Regions from separate parts of the Homo sapiens genome. Here all the other regions are linked to region 2. The links are contacts of gene promoters, found by promoter capture Hi-C in blood cells and fetal thymus (Javierre and others, 2016). All regions are on one chromosome and are shown on one strand. Each heading gives the region's core, a stretch centred on a gene start or on the middle of the fragment in contact. The rest is flanking DNA. Distances are from core to core; before and after follow the strand shown.

Evidence for each region. Contacts are between HindIII fragments. The CHiCAGO score rates a contact against its expected background, and 5 or more counts as called.
Region 1: a contact is called between a fragment that was not itself captured here and the fragment with the promoter of IER5 in region 2, in 4 of 17 cell types (fetal thymus, megakaryocytes, activated CD4 T cells and 1 more). The highest score is 7.7, in fetal thymus.
Region 3: a contact is called between a fragment that was not itself captured here and the fragment with the promoter of IER5 in region 2, in 1 of 17 cell types (naive B cells). The highest score is 6.0, in naive B cells.
Region 4: a contact is called between a fragment that was not itself captured here and the fragment with the promoter of IER5 in region 2, in 1 of 17 cell types (non-activated CD4 T cells). The highest score is 6.3, in non-activated CD4 T cells.
Region 5: a contact is called between a fragment that was not itself captured here and the fragment with the promoter of IER5 in region 2, in 1 of 17 cell types (naive B cells). The highest score is 6.0, in naive B cells.

What each region holds. Positions count from the first base shown.
Region 1 is chr1:180,507,718-180,510,417 of GRCh38, forward strand. No RefSeq gene overlaps it. Among named protein-coding and RNA genes, the nearest start is that of ACBD6, 6.5 kb to the left of the region's middle. The HindIII fragment of the contact is 2,352 bases long and covers 79-2,430 here.
Region 2 is chr1:181,087,395-181,090,094 of GRCh38, forward strand. It overlaps IER5 (immediate early response 5), which reads left to right and starts at 1,306. Exons shown (of 1, transcript NM_016545.5): 1 at 1,306-2,700. The coding sequence starts at 1,509. The coding sequence ends at 2,492. LOC124904465 (a long non-coding RNA gene) reads right to left here and starts at 1,107. Exons shown (of 2, transcript XR_007066762.1): 1 at 881-1,107; 2 at 403-476. RefSeq lists silencers at 1,085-1,354, 1,665-1,824, 2,025-2,244 and an enhancer at 2,635-2,700. The HindIII fragment of the contact is 13,735 bases long and covers 1-2,700 here.
Region 3 is chr1:180,491,209-180,493,908 of GRCh38, forward strand. It overlaps ACBD6 (acyl-CoA binding domain containing 6), which reads right to left. Exons shown (of 8, transcript NM_032360.4): 3 at 1,061-1,157. Among named protein-coding and RNA genes, the nearest start is that of ACBD6, 10 kb to the right of the region's middle. The HindIII fragment of the contact is 530 bases long and covers 1,151-1,680 here.
Region 4 is chr1:182,032,225-182,034,924 of GRCh38, forward strand. No RefSeq gene overlaps it. Among named protein-coding and RNA genes, the nearest start is that of ZNF648, 28 kb to the right of the region's middle. The HindIII fragment of the contact is 1,856 bases long and covers 448-2,303 here.
Region 5 is chr1:180,547,251-180,549,950 of GRCh38, forward strand. No RefSeq gene overlaps it. Among named protein-coding and RNA genes, the nearest start is that of OVAAL, 10 kb to the right of the region's middle. The HindIII fragment of the contact is 2,320 bases long and covers 103-2,422 here.

The DNA.
Region 1 (2,700 bases), core at 5-2,504, 580 kb before region 2:
TTTGTGTTCTTGGCATGGCTTGCAGTCAACAGTAGTTGACTGCTTAGGGGTCGATCCCCTTATTGCTGAGTTGTTCAAAGCTTAACTGTTTATGTTTCTTTGAATCCCAAGAAAAATCAGCCAAGAAATCAGGAAGTCAAAAGAAAGTATTACAGTTCTGCAGGAATTGAAGTTTAGCAGTCAACATACACTGATTCAAACAAACCCGCTAACAAGTGAAAAGCAATGGCAGGAAACACTGACAAATGGAGTCTAAAGTGAGCAGAAAAAGGAGCAGGCAGGAAAGAAGTAGTGAAGATCTAATCAGTCTGGCTCATGATGGTGGCCATGTTGCATATGGTGTTCACAGCCCCATCTTCTGGTAACAATGAGTCATTCTTGCAAGTAAAATAAATATTGATGACATGATATGCATAATAAATAAAATTCTATGAGTCATGTTCTAAGAAATTAGAAGCAAAATAAGTCCTCAAACTGGCAATTTGTTTAAGTGATGCTGAGTAGTTCTATTAACCTTGCTAGAAGGTCTGAATGTTATGTTATTAGAATACTACCCAACAATGTTGTGGCATTTTCCAGTGTTTATATTCATTATAAACTACAGTTCTAAGTATTTCAAGAAGAAATGCAAAGAGAAAAATATGTGATTGTTGTAAAATGCTTCCCAACATAACATCTGAACTGATCTAAACATCTGAATTAACAAAAGTCATAATGAGAGGTGACGACCTACTGGCAGCCCTCACAGAGGGCTGGCTGTCAGCACCTCCTCGGCCTCGGCAGTGCTTGAGGAGCCCTTCAGCCTGCCGCTGCACTGTGGGAGCCCCTCTCTGGGCTGGCCAAGGCTAGAGCCGGCTCCCTCTGCTTGCAGGGAGGTGTGGAGGGAGAGGAGCAGGCTGGAACCGGGGCTGCGCGTGGCGGTCGCAGGCCAGCGTGAGTTCCAGGAGGGCATGGGATCTGTGGGCCCTGCACTTGGAGCGGCAGACCGGAAACACTGGCCCCGGGCAGTGAGCGGCTTAGCACCTGGGCCAGCAGCTGCAGAGGGTGGGCCGGGTCCCCCAGCAGTACCGGCCCACCGGCACTGCACTCGGATCCTCACAGGGCCGCAGCTGCTTCCCTGCAGGACAGGGCTCAGGACCTGCAGCCCACCATGCCCGAGCCTTCCCCCACCCCGCCATGGGCTCCTGCGCAGCCCTAGCCTCCCCAACGAGTGCCGCCCCCTGCTCCGCAGCACCCGGTCCCATCTACCGCCCAAGGGCTGAGGAGCCCGCAGGCACGCAGCGCTGGACTGGTTGAACAGCTCCGCCCGCTGCCCTGGCACGGGATCCACCAGGCGAAGCTGGCTGACCTCCTGAGTTGGTGGGGGGAGGTGGGACTTGGAGAACTTTTATGTCTAGCTGGAGGATTGTAAATGCACCAATCAGCACCCTGTGTCTAGCTCAAGGTTTGTGAATGCACCAATCAGCAGTCTGTATCTAGCTCAGGCTTTGTAAATGCATCAATCAGTGCTCTGTGTCTGGCTAATCTAGTGGGGGACTTGGAGAACTTTTGTGTCTAGCTCAGGGATTGTAAATGCACCAATCTGCACCCTGTCAAAACGGACCAATCAGCTCTCTGTAAAATGGACCAATCTCAGCAGGATGTGGGTGGGGCCAGATAAGAGAATAAAAGCAGGCTGCCAAGAGCCAGCTGCGGCAAGTCGCTCAGGTCTCCAGCTTAGTTGTTTTGCTCTCTGCAGTAACTCTTGCTGGTGCTAACTGTTTGGGTCCGCACTGTCTTTGTGAGCTGTGACACTCATGGCGAAGGTCTGCAGCTTCACTCTTGAGGCCAGCAAGACCACGAACCCACTGGGAGGAATGAACAACTCCAGACGCACCGCCTTGAGAGCTGTAACACTCACCGCCAAGGTCTGCAGCTTCACTCCTGAAGCCAGGGAGATCACGAACCCACCAGAAGGAAGAAACTCCAAACACGTCCGAACATCAGAAGGAACAAACTCCCGACACACCATCTTTAAGAACTGTAACACTCACCGTGAGGGTCCACGTTTTCATTCTTGAAGTCAGTGAGTTCAAGAACCCACCAATTGCAGACACAATAACTGTTTCAGTAGCATAACTGAAGTCAGGGCAACCAGACAAAATATTTTCCTCGTTACAAAAGTAACTGCACTGGGTTTAGTACAATTTAGGTTTTTGTGAAATATTGACATTTAAAAAATTTTTGTATCAATACCTTTTGAGGTATAAATTTTTTTTGTTATATGGATGAATAATGTAGTGGTGACTTCTGAGACTTTAGTGCACCTGTCACCCAAGTAGTGTACATTGTACTTAATATGTGGTTATTTATCTCTAACCCCATTCCCACCCTCCCCCTGCTGAGTCTCTAAACTCCATTATACCACTCTGTATGTCTTCATGTACTCAAAGCTTAGCTCCCGCTTACAAGCGAGAACATACAGGTTTTGGTTTCCCACTCCTGAGTTACTTCATTTAGAATAATGGCTTCCAGCTCCATACAAGTTGCTGCCAAAGACATTGTTTTATTCCTTTTCATGGCTGAGTGGTATTCCGTGGTGTCTATATACCACATTTTCTTTAGTCATTGGTTGATGGGCACTTAGGTTGGTTCCACATCTTTTGCATTTGTGCTACTATAAATGTGTGTGCAAGTGTTTTTTTTATATAAATGACTTCT
Region 2 (2,700 bases), core at 56-2,555:
CTTGACCAACCCCGGGGCAGGATCAGGCCCAGGGTTCCACATGGACTCCAAGAAAGCAGTGCTTAGTTTTCTCATTCAGATTGTGGCTGAGAAGTTGTCATTTATCGTCTGTACAATAACGCAGATGTGTATGTGACTTCCCCCTTTTCAGCAGTGGAGACACTGAAGCGGCCTGAGGTTATTTACCCAGAGTCCTCAGGCAGGTCTGTGGTGGAGCTTCGGTGGAACTAACTGGAAGTGACTCCATGTTTCCAGTCCAGGACCCTGGGCAACCCCGTGGTAATTGTGTCCTGATATACTTATAAGGACCAGTAGATGGACTAAGTTGTTGACTGACCAGAAAATTCTGGAACTCCCTAGCACTATATTTTTACCTTGACACGAAATGAAATTATGACATCATCATGGGAACACAGGACTTCTTTCTTTTTATTTTCAGAACTTGCTCGATTTTTCCAAGGGTGGACTGGTCAGTCCTTGTAATGGAAAAATGGAAATGGAAAAAAAAAAGGAAAAAAAAATCATTGTGGAGAACCTGTAACATCTTCCATTTAACTTATTTGATAACTGGGTTTGTTCTAGAATCTAGAGAACAAAGTGAAAGATGCCAGCTTTAGAGGACAACCAATAACTTTGTATCTAGACACGATTCCTTGAAAAGAAGCCAAAAACCTAGGCAAAAACTTTTAGAATCCCCCTTTTCTTTGGGGTTAGAACTGACAGCTGCTAAGAGTGTATGTGACTCTAGCGGGGAAAGCGGCTCATCCAAAAATAATGATTGCCAAATACTTTGCAGTAATACTATTTGTTATCCAGGGGTGTCCTCCGCCGCGTATGGCCACCATCTCTATTTTTGCCAGGGTTGAGGGGGGTCGCTTACAGGTGTGGCCGGCCTGGAAACGGTGGTGTGGCTGGTGAGGGCGGAGTCGATCAGGGAAGGATCAGGACTTTATGGCAGAACAGAGTCCACCACCGTGTTCGGAAGAAAGTTCGAATATTTTGTTCGCTTTGGTTCCGGCAAGCCATCGCACAAGCCAGAATCTGTAACTCCAAACAGTAGCGCTCTCGAGCACCGTCCCGAACATTCACTCCCCACGGGCCTGGTCTGCGGCCGCAAGCCGTCGCCCCCTTTAAGAGCCTGCTCCGCGGGACTAACGTTCGAACGGGCCCTGGCGCCCCTCCTCGGGCTCCGATTGGCCGTGCGCGGCGCACGAGGGCGCGCCGGCCAGCCCCGGAACGGTTGGCGGCCCTTCGTGATTGGCGGTCGAGAAGCCTATATAAGGCGCGGGGCAGCCAGGCTGCCCTGTTTAGCGACCGGACCCGAAACGGGGAAGTTGTCTTGTTTGGAGAGGTTAGTAGAGCAGCGCGCGCGTCACCAGAGTCGTTTCTCTTCGGAGTCTTAGGTGATCGAGGGTGTGCCCAGGGGGCGGACTTGTTTGCGCCTCCCGTTCCCTCCCAATTTCCAAACGTGTCACCCCGGCGCCGACGGCCCTGTGCAGGGGAAGCAGATGGAGTTCAAGCTGGAGGCTCATCGCATCGTCAGCATCTCTCTGGGCAAGATCTACAACTCGCGGGTCCAGCGCGGCGGCATCAAGCTGCATAAGAACCTCCTGGTCTCGCTGGTGCTGCGCAGCGCCCGCCAAGTCTACCTGAGCGACCCGTGCCCCGGCCTCTACCTGGCCGGTCCCGCTGGGACCCCGGCGCCGCCACCGCAGCAGCAGCCCGGGGAGCCGGCGGCCGGGCCACCCGCCGGCTGGGGAGAGCCGCCCCCGCCCGCCGCTCGTGCCTCTTGGCCGGAGACCGAGCCGCAGCCGGAGCGCTCCTCCGTCTCAGACGCGCCGCGGGTAGGGGACGAGGTGCCGGTGGCCACGGTGACTGGAGTCGGGGACGTTTTTCAGGGCGGAGAGGCGGACGCGACGGAAGCTGCCTGGAGCCGCGTGGAGGGGCCGCGCCAGGCGGCGGCCAGAGAAGCCGAGGGTACCGCCGGAGGCTGGGGCGTCTTCCCCGAGGTATCTCGTGCCGCGCGCCGCCCCTGCGGCTGCCCCCTAGGCGGGGAGGACCCGCCGGGTACACCGGCCGCGACCCCCCGCGCTGCCTGCTGCTGCGCGCCGCAACCAGCGGAGGACGAGCCCCCCGCGCCGCCCGCGGTGTGCCCCAGGAAGCGCTGCGCGGCGGGGGTGGGCGGCGGCCCAGCGGGCTGCCCGGCGCCCGGCTCGACCCCGCTCAAGAAGCCCCGCCGGAACTTAGAGCAGCCGCCGAGTGGAGGAGAGGACGACGACGCGGAGGAGATGGAGACCGGGAACGTGGCTAACCTCATCAGCATCTTCGGTTCCAGTTTCTCGGGACTCCTACGGAAAAGCCCCGGGGGCGGCAGAGAGGAAGAGGAGGGAGAGGAGAGCGGTCCGGAAGCCGCCGAGCCCGGGCAGATCTGCTGCGATAAGCCGGTGCTGAGAGACATGAACCCCTGGAGCACAGCCATCGTGGCCTTCTGAGCCCTTGGCCCCCCTGCGGGGAGGAGGTGGAGCAGCGGGCGTCCCCGAAGTGAGGGCCAGGCCCTTCCCGGCTGCGAGGACGCCCAGAGACCGCGGGCGCTGAGCGCGTTGGGCAGACTGGTTGCCTCTGGGCATCGCAAACTGCCCCCGGGCGCATCTGGCTTATCTGGAGACCTGGGAGCTTGAGGCTCATTGGAAGAGGACGATC
Region 3 (2,700 bases), core at 166-2,665, 600 kb before region 2:
AACACTGAAAATTGTTTAATTCATTAACTGCTAAAATGTTTGGCCTTAATATTTTTATTGAAAAAAATTCAATTTGCATTTTTTACATGGTACAATGCAACCTCTATCTCACTGAAATACCTGTTAATCATTTAACAATATTCTTAAATAGTAACCTCACCTTTATTAAATTCTTTCTAGATGTTCTCCAATAAGTATATGAGAAAAACAGGGTATATTTAAGTGAACAATATCCAATGCTTCCAAAGTCCAAAGCAATCCCTTTTCCTGCTGGATTCCCTAGCATTTACATTATTATTGTTTTATACTATTAAAGATATATATTTTGATATGTTTTATCTTCTCTATTACACTTTAAACTACATAATGGCAGAAATCATGTCTTATTCATCTTTTATCCCTAATAAGCATTTTGCCCTTGCATAGAAAGTGATCATAAAAACGAAATCCAAGAGTAACCTTTTTTCCAGCATGATAATCTCAAGTTAAACTCTTTCCAATTCTTATGTAATTCAAATTTTTCTGCTTTCAAAAACTCTGCAACTCAGAGAAGTTCTCAGCATCAGTAGCTGGTTATATTACTATTTAAGTAATTATTATTAATTTTTTTCATTTTTCTGAGATGGAGTCTCACACTGTCACCCAGGCTGGAGTGCAGTGGCCTGATTTTGGCTCACTGCAGCCTCAGCCTCCCAGGTTCAATTGATTCCCCTGCCTCAGCTTCCTGAGTAGCTGGGATTACAGGTGTGTACCACCACGTCCAGCTAATTTTTGTATTTTTAGTAGAGATGAGATTTCACCATGCTGGCCAGGCCGGTCTTGAACTCTTACCTCAGGTGAACCACCTGGCTTGGCCTCCCAGAGTGCTGGGATTACAGGTATGAGCCACCACACCTGGCCAGCAATTATTTTATTAGATAAATATTACAATAACTTTAAAATATTTCAAGAAAGTAAAACTTTAAGCATGTTACTTAAAACTAAGTTTAGTTTTAGACATTTATTTCAGAGAAGGATCATAAGTTTTTGGAAAGTATTATTTATAATCATTAAGTCTTACCTGAGGATTCCAACCTGGATCTAGTTTTTTAACTACTGCGATATATTCCTGCATTGCTTGGCTGGGGCTTGAATCACCAAGTGCTTTCCAAGCTTCCCTACAATATGGAATATCCAAAATGGCCTGTCATTATGCAAATAACACAAACAGCATTTTTCTTATTATTAAAAAAACTGTATGCACATTTCAAGGGTCTCTGAATATAGAGATAATAAGCTATGGATAGAGAAGCTCTGTCTTTTTGCATTTACATTGGTCTAGAGCTATACAGACCTTATTGCCCTACCTAAGCAGTCTTTTCAGACATTTTTTTTCCTAATCGTCCTCCCCGTGAAATTTTAAAAACACAGATACAATGCATAGCTATTAAATTTTGAAAGACCACAAACCACTGTAATCTAAGATTTTATAATTTCCTCAAACAAAATTTCACCCCTATTGAGGATATATGATCTACAGACTAATAGAGATTATTCTCATAAATTAACTGTGCTTATGGCATTTTGGTCGTACAGAAACTAATCATCACATAAAAAACAATATTCCCAAGGAAAATGCATCAAACTTCTTACTAAGATACAAGAAATCCACCTTCCCTTTCTGCTGTTATCTCATCTATAAGCTTCTAGTAACTGATCCTGGGGACTTAGTCTGGGACTTCAAAAGTAAGGGATGGTGAGGGCAGAAATAAGAATACTGGCCAGGCTTGGTGGCTCACGCCTGTAATCCCAGCACTTTGGGAGGCTGAGGCAGGTGGACCACCTGAGGTCAGGAGTTTGAGACCAGCCTGGCCAACATGGTGAAACCCCATCTCTACTAAAGATACAAAAATTAGCCAGGCGTGGTGGTGTGCGCCTGTAGTCCAGCTACTCTGGAGGCCGAGGCAGGAGAATTGCTTGAACCTGGGAGGCAGAGGTTGCAGTAAGCTGAGATGGCACCACCACACTCCAGCCTGGGCAACAGAGCAAAATTCTGTCTCAAAAAAAAAAAAAAAAAAAAAAAAAAAAAAACAACAACAGCAACTAAAGAATACTAATGAGTAAGTTAGGGACTTCCTACAATATAAATGGCAAAAGCAACATTTTAGTCCTGAGCTTCCTTTTGGGTCATCTACCCCCCTGCCCCCACAACAGGCTGCCAGGACAGGCCTTCTTCTTGGTTTTTCCCTGCCAATTCTTTCTAAATTCCAACCAGTGTTTCTCGATTTCCCTGATTTGCTGTCAAACAGAACTCAATCCCACATTTTTTCACTACCTTCCTGCTTCTATGATGAATATAATATCTTTCTGAGGTTTTCTAAATTTATTTTCACTGAATTCCTTAAGAATTACTTATACGCATCATAACACTTCATCCCTAAATAGATCAGCTTACACAAACTCAGGAAATTTATCATCAATTACTATTATACAATATAGAGGCTATACATTCAGATTTTCCTGATTGTCCCAATAATGTCCTTTATGGCTTTCTTCTCCCACACCAGGAACCAATCAAGATCCACACACAGCATTGAGTTTCATGTATCTTCAGCTTTTTTGTCTTCCACATTGTTGGTATTTTTTAAGAGTCCAACTGTTTTATAACATATCCCTCAATTTGAATTTGTCTAATTGTTTCCTTACCTACAGTGTTCTTGC
Region 4 (2,700 bases), core at 126-2,625, 940 kb after region 2:
TATTTTATTGTTGTTGCCTAAACTAATTGACTTCTGTGCTTTTGGTCCTTGAAAACACTGTTTTAATAGTTACACTTTTTTCTGTAATAATACTTTACATGTGTTAAAAGAAAAACTTTAGACAAATTAAATTTACCAGTTTATTTGAGCAAAGAATGACTCAGGAATCATGCATCACTGAGAACCAAAAGTTCAGAGTGCTGCACAGTGTGAGCAATGGACTTTTATAGGCCCAACACAGAAGCAGAGGAGAGGAATCACCTGATTGGTTGGGCATGGTGGCTGATGCCTGTAATCCCAGCAACTCGATAGACTTACTAGGGAGGATTGCTTGAGCCCAGGAGTTTGAGGCTGCAGTGAGCTGTGATCACACCACTGCACTCCAGCCTGGGCAACAAAGCAACCCTCCTGCCCCCACCCTGACCCCATCTGCTGTACTTGTCAGTAAGCTTGCTTTGGGTTTATGAGATCCAATAAATATGGATTCATATCAAACTGTTTGTCTCACCTTATTCATCAGTTGACACCTATCAAAGGCATATCCCGGGCACTGTTCTGAACATGTGAGGACAAGAGATTCAAAATGCTAAAGGCTCACAATATCACAGCAAGATGCTATTGGGAATTAGAGAGACCAGCATGTTGCTAACAAGAAAACCTGCGTATGTGATTGCAGAATTCTACAGGTGGTCTTAAAGAAGTTTTCTCATGGGCCATATTCATATTCTGTGCTTTATTCAGCTTCATATTTTTTCTCTAGCAAGGTATCATCAAGAGTTTGCAGGAGGACATTGTTACTCTTGCTGAAATTCTGTCAGCAGGACTAAGGTTACATATTATCATGCCCCTTCTGCTTCCAATAACAAATGACCTTAAAAATAGCATGGCCTGAGATCTATGCCAAGAAAATATCCACATTATATTTGTAATTCACACTGTTCTGAAGTTGAATTTGTGATTATTATATTGAGACTATATTAAAATACTTCCCTAGTTGTATTTATTATGCTCATGAGATTTGGTGATTTATTATTAAACCTCTTAGAGTTAATTATGTTTATTGCCCCAGTCTTTTCTGAAGGAAACTTGGGAATTGTCTTTCTTATCCCTAATTAGGAAATTACAAAATGCTCTTCTGAGCACATGGGAATTGTTTTCCCTTGCTCCATGAGACTGACCCACCAGGTTTATTAAACAAAAACCTCTTTGATAACAGATCAAAATTTTAACTTTACTATTAAAATATATAAAGATATTCTATTAAATAGCAGATCAGCTTCACCCCTTCTAGTTCCTCATTTTACATTTTTGAGGGAAGAAGGGTTTTTTCCCTCTGGTTGAAAACATACTTTTTAAAAAAATAACAAAATTGCCAAGTTATAAATGTTGTATTAGTTTGCTAGGGCTGTAATAATAAAGTACTATAAGCTGGATGACTTAATAAAAATTTCACCTCTCAGTTCTGGAGGCTAGAAGTCTGATATCAAGGTGTCTTAAAAGTTGGTTCCTTTTAAGGGCTGTGAGGGGGAGTCTGTTCCAGGCCTCTCCCCCTTGGCTTTGTTAATGGCCATCTTCTCCCTATGTCTCTCCACGTTGTTATCCTTCTATTCATGTCTTTCTCTGTGCCCAAATTTATGCAATGGACTGAAAGTGTCCACCCTAAAATGCATATGTTGAAATCCTAATCCCGGTGGGATAATATTTGAAGGTGGGGCCTGTGGGAGGTGATCAGGTCATAAGGGTGGAGCCTCATGATTGAAATTAGTGCCTTTTATAAGAAGAGGTCCAAGAACTGCTAGCTCTCCTTCTGCCGTGTCATGATCCAATTAGAAGTCAGCAGCAGTCTGCAACCTGGAAGAGGACCTTCACCAGACCCTGACTCTGCTGGTGCCCTGATCTTAGACTTCCAAGCCTTCAGAATTGTGAGAAATAAATTTCTGTTGTTTATAAGCCATCCAGTTTATGGTACTTTGTTGGAACAGCCAAATGAATAAGACAATTTATATGAATAGACTTATGGTTCTGTGACTTGGTTTTTTCACTCAACATTTTCTAAACCTGTACTTACAGCTTCGCTTCATTCATCTTAACTGCTATTTAACATCCCATTATATTAATAAAACACAATTGATTTATGTATTCTTTTACTGATGAATATTTAAAATGTTTCCAAAGTTTTGCCATTACAAATTATGCTGCAATTAATATTCTTACATATATTTATAATCTCCTCATGTATACTTAAATTTCTTAAGGGGGAGTGGTCTCCTGCTATGCTGATTGTGTTGCCTCATCAATAAAAAAGCTTAACTGCTTATCCTCAATATGTCTCTATTTATAAATTATATAAATGTCCTATTGTATTAACATGTAATACCCATTATCAAATGTAAATTTTTTCTTAAAAGATAAGTACAAAATTCTACTATTTTCTTCCCATATCCCATTTGAATTGCTAAGGTATAAGGTATAGATATATTGATGATTACTGATACTACTATCATATCATCATCATCATACTGTATTAATAGTATTATATCAATGTAATATTAAACATCATTATATTACTCTCCAAGAACTGTACCAATAATTTGCATTCCTTTTATCAGAGTATGAAAATTTCCATTTCTCCACATCCTTACCAACACTTGATGTAAATATGTACTTTTAACATTTTATTTTGAAAAAATTTCAAACTAG
Region 5 (2,700 bases), core at 13-2,512, 540 kb before region 2:
GAGCCTGCTTGCCCATTGACCTGAGGCCTCACACCACTAGGCCTTTCCAGTGACTGCCTCACTGAGACCCTTTTGGATTTTCAATCCTGTAATGCTAATGAAAGCTTTATCCAATTGATGGCATCCCACTAATAACAATGTTGGCATGCATGGCCCTTTCATCTCCTCTTGGCTAGTGATAAAATAGTCTGCGATTCCAGCTGGAAACGATTTTGACTCAAGGGGTTTCTTGGCCAGAGGTAAATTGTTTCTTTATATCTATACTGGTGGCCATCTGAATTGTATAAGTTTAAACGTTTTTCTGTCAAAGAAAATATCTCAGATATAAAGTGTGACTTTTGGCTAAGGTATTCTAGGAGACAGAGAATGGTATCCAGGTTGGATTACTTAATATAAAAATAGAATCATATTCTCTTACTTGCATTTTTCTTCAAGCCATTTTGTTGACACACAGTACCAAAAGCATTTCAGAGGTCAGTAGCAGGCATCTGAATACCCTCAAATGAAGCAACAACAAACAATCAACTAGTAAATACTATTTTTAAGGGATTTTTTTTTGAGGTGGAGTCTTGCTCTGTCACCCAGCCTGGAGTGCAGTTGTGTGATCTCGGCTCACTGCAACCTCCGCCTCCCGGGTTCAAGCGATTCTCCTGCCTCAGCCTCCCGAGTAGCTGGGATTACAGACGTGTGCCACCATGCCTGGGGAATTTTTGTATTTTTAGTAGAAAAGGGGTTTCACCACGTTGGCCAGGCTGGTGTCAAACTCCTGACCTTAGGTGATCCACCCGCCTCAGCCTCCCAAAGTGCTGGGATTACAGGCATGAACCACTGCGCCCGGCCTAAGGGATTTTAAGGCAGCAAAAAACCCAGTTTCAGGCTCTGCCTTCTTAAACACAGCCATATAAGACAGATTAGGATAAAAAAATATAGACCCATATTCATTTAAGATATGCAGATAGAAATTGCCAAGTATTAGTGCCATGCACAGGGTTTAAGGTGACCAATTGCCTCAGTTTTCCCAGTACTGTCTGGGTTTTAGCACTGTAAGTCCCACATCCCAGGAAACACCTTGGTCCCAGGCAAACTGGAACATTTGGTCACCCAAGAGCAGGCCAAGTCACAGAACTCAGGCCATGGCCAAAATGAATAGACTGTTCAGGTATTTTTATGGTTGATGTATATTATTTGTCTCAATTTATTTGTGTCTTAGTAAAAGAAGGGTTAAAATCTGAACCTCACGCTCAGAATTGTTGTAAGAAACTGCCTCAATTAGTCACTAGGCAATTTGCAAATGTGAGATGGTATGAAATTATAAATAATAGCTTGGAGTGATTTTAATGTAGCTAGTAGACCTAACCTGGCTGATGCCAAGGGTCTCGCTGTGTAACTATTAGAGCTTTGCCTATGAAGAAAATCTAGTCCATTGTGAGCAATTTCACATTTCTTTCGTTCCTGCTAATGCTAGGCCACCTCTCAGGACAATCCAGGGCAACCTTGGCTCCAATTTTGTCTAACCCGGCTGGATGCAGCCAAATTATGGGCTTCTTTTTAGGTGGAGCATATTTTTGTGGGCTGTGGGAGACCTGTAATTCTTTTTTTTTTTTCCCCTCGTGCAAACCATTTATAGCTTTGGGTGATGTAAAATCCACAGGGTGCCTACAACAGTGTCACGCAACCAAAGGGCTTCCCACATGATCCATCTGGGACACAGTGGAGCCAGGGCCTCACCCAAGTCTCTGTCCATCCACTTTCAACTCCTCCTGCCCTCCTCCCCCAATCTCCCAAGTGGGGCAGCAGCCCACAGAGCCTTTTACTTCTTTCACCCGCTTGTGGTTCAGCGGCTTCAATTATCAGCCAGGTTTTCTTTTCATCGACAGAGCTATTGTTTGATGCTGTGCATTCATCCATCCATAAGCACCTCAAATCTGTCTGACTTGCTAGTTTCAGAACCATGGCAACAGCACAGCTTTGTGCAGGAGTCCTAGATTAGGAAGCAAAACCTCATTTTTAGGTCCAGCTCTGTCATAGCCTTGCTGAGATGTCTCAGGCAAATTGCCCCACCTCTCAGGACTTCCGTGTCCTCATTTATTAAATGAGAGGTTTGGATTAAATTAATTCTAAAGCACCTATAGCCTCTAAAATTCTATGATTCAATATAAGAGTGCTAACTGGCAGGGAAAATAGGAAAGAGAGGGAAGAGATTAAGAGATACAAAGCCCAGTAAGGTGGAAGCCAGGGCTAGCGCAAGATGCTCAGTCAAAGGGCTGGCCAACCACTTACTGTTTAGAACAGAAATATGTGCTACTGGATTCTAAGGAGTTTGTTGGGCTATGGTGTGATTTTACTCTTTTCCCATCATCATCCAAAACTTTTAGTCAAAGGGCTACCCAACCAGCCTTCCCTTGGGGCTAATATGGAGCAAAGCTTACCGTGAAGTAAACAAAGATAACAGTAAAAAATTGGTTCTGGCCGGGCGTGGTGGCTCACCCCTTTAATCCCAGCACTTTGGGAGGCCGAGGTGGGTGGATCACAAGGTCAGGAGATGGAAACCATCCTGGCCAATATGGTGAAACCCTGTCTCTACTAAAATACAAAAAAAAAAAAAAAAAAAAAAAATTTAACTGGGCACGTTGGTGCGCTCCTGTAGTCCCTGCTACTCTGGAGGCTGAGGCAAGGGAATCGCTTGAACCTGGGAGGCGG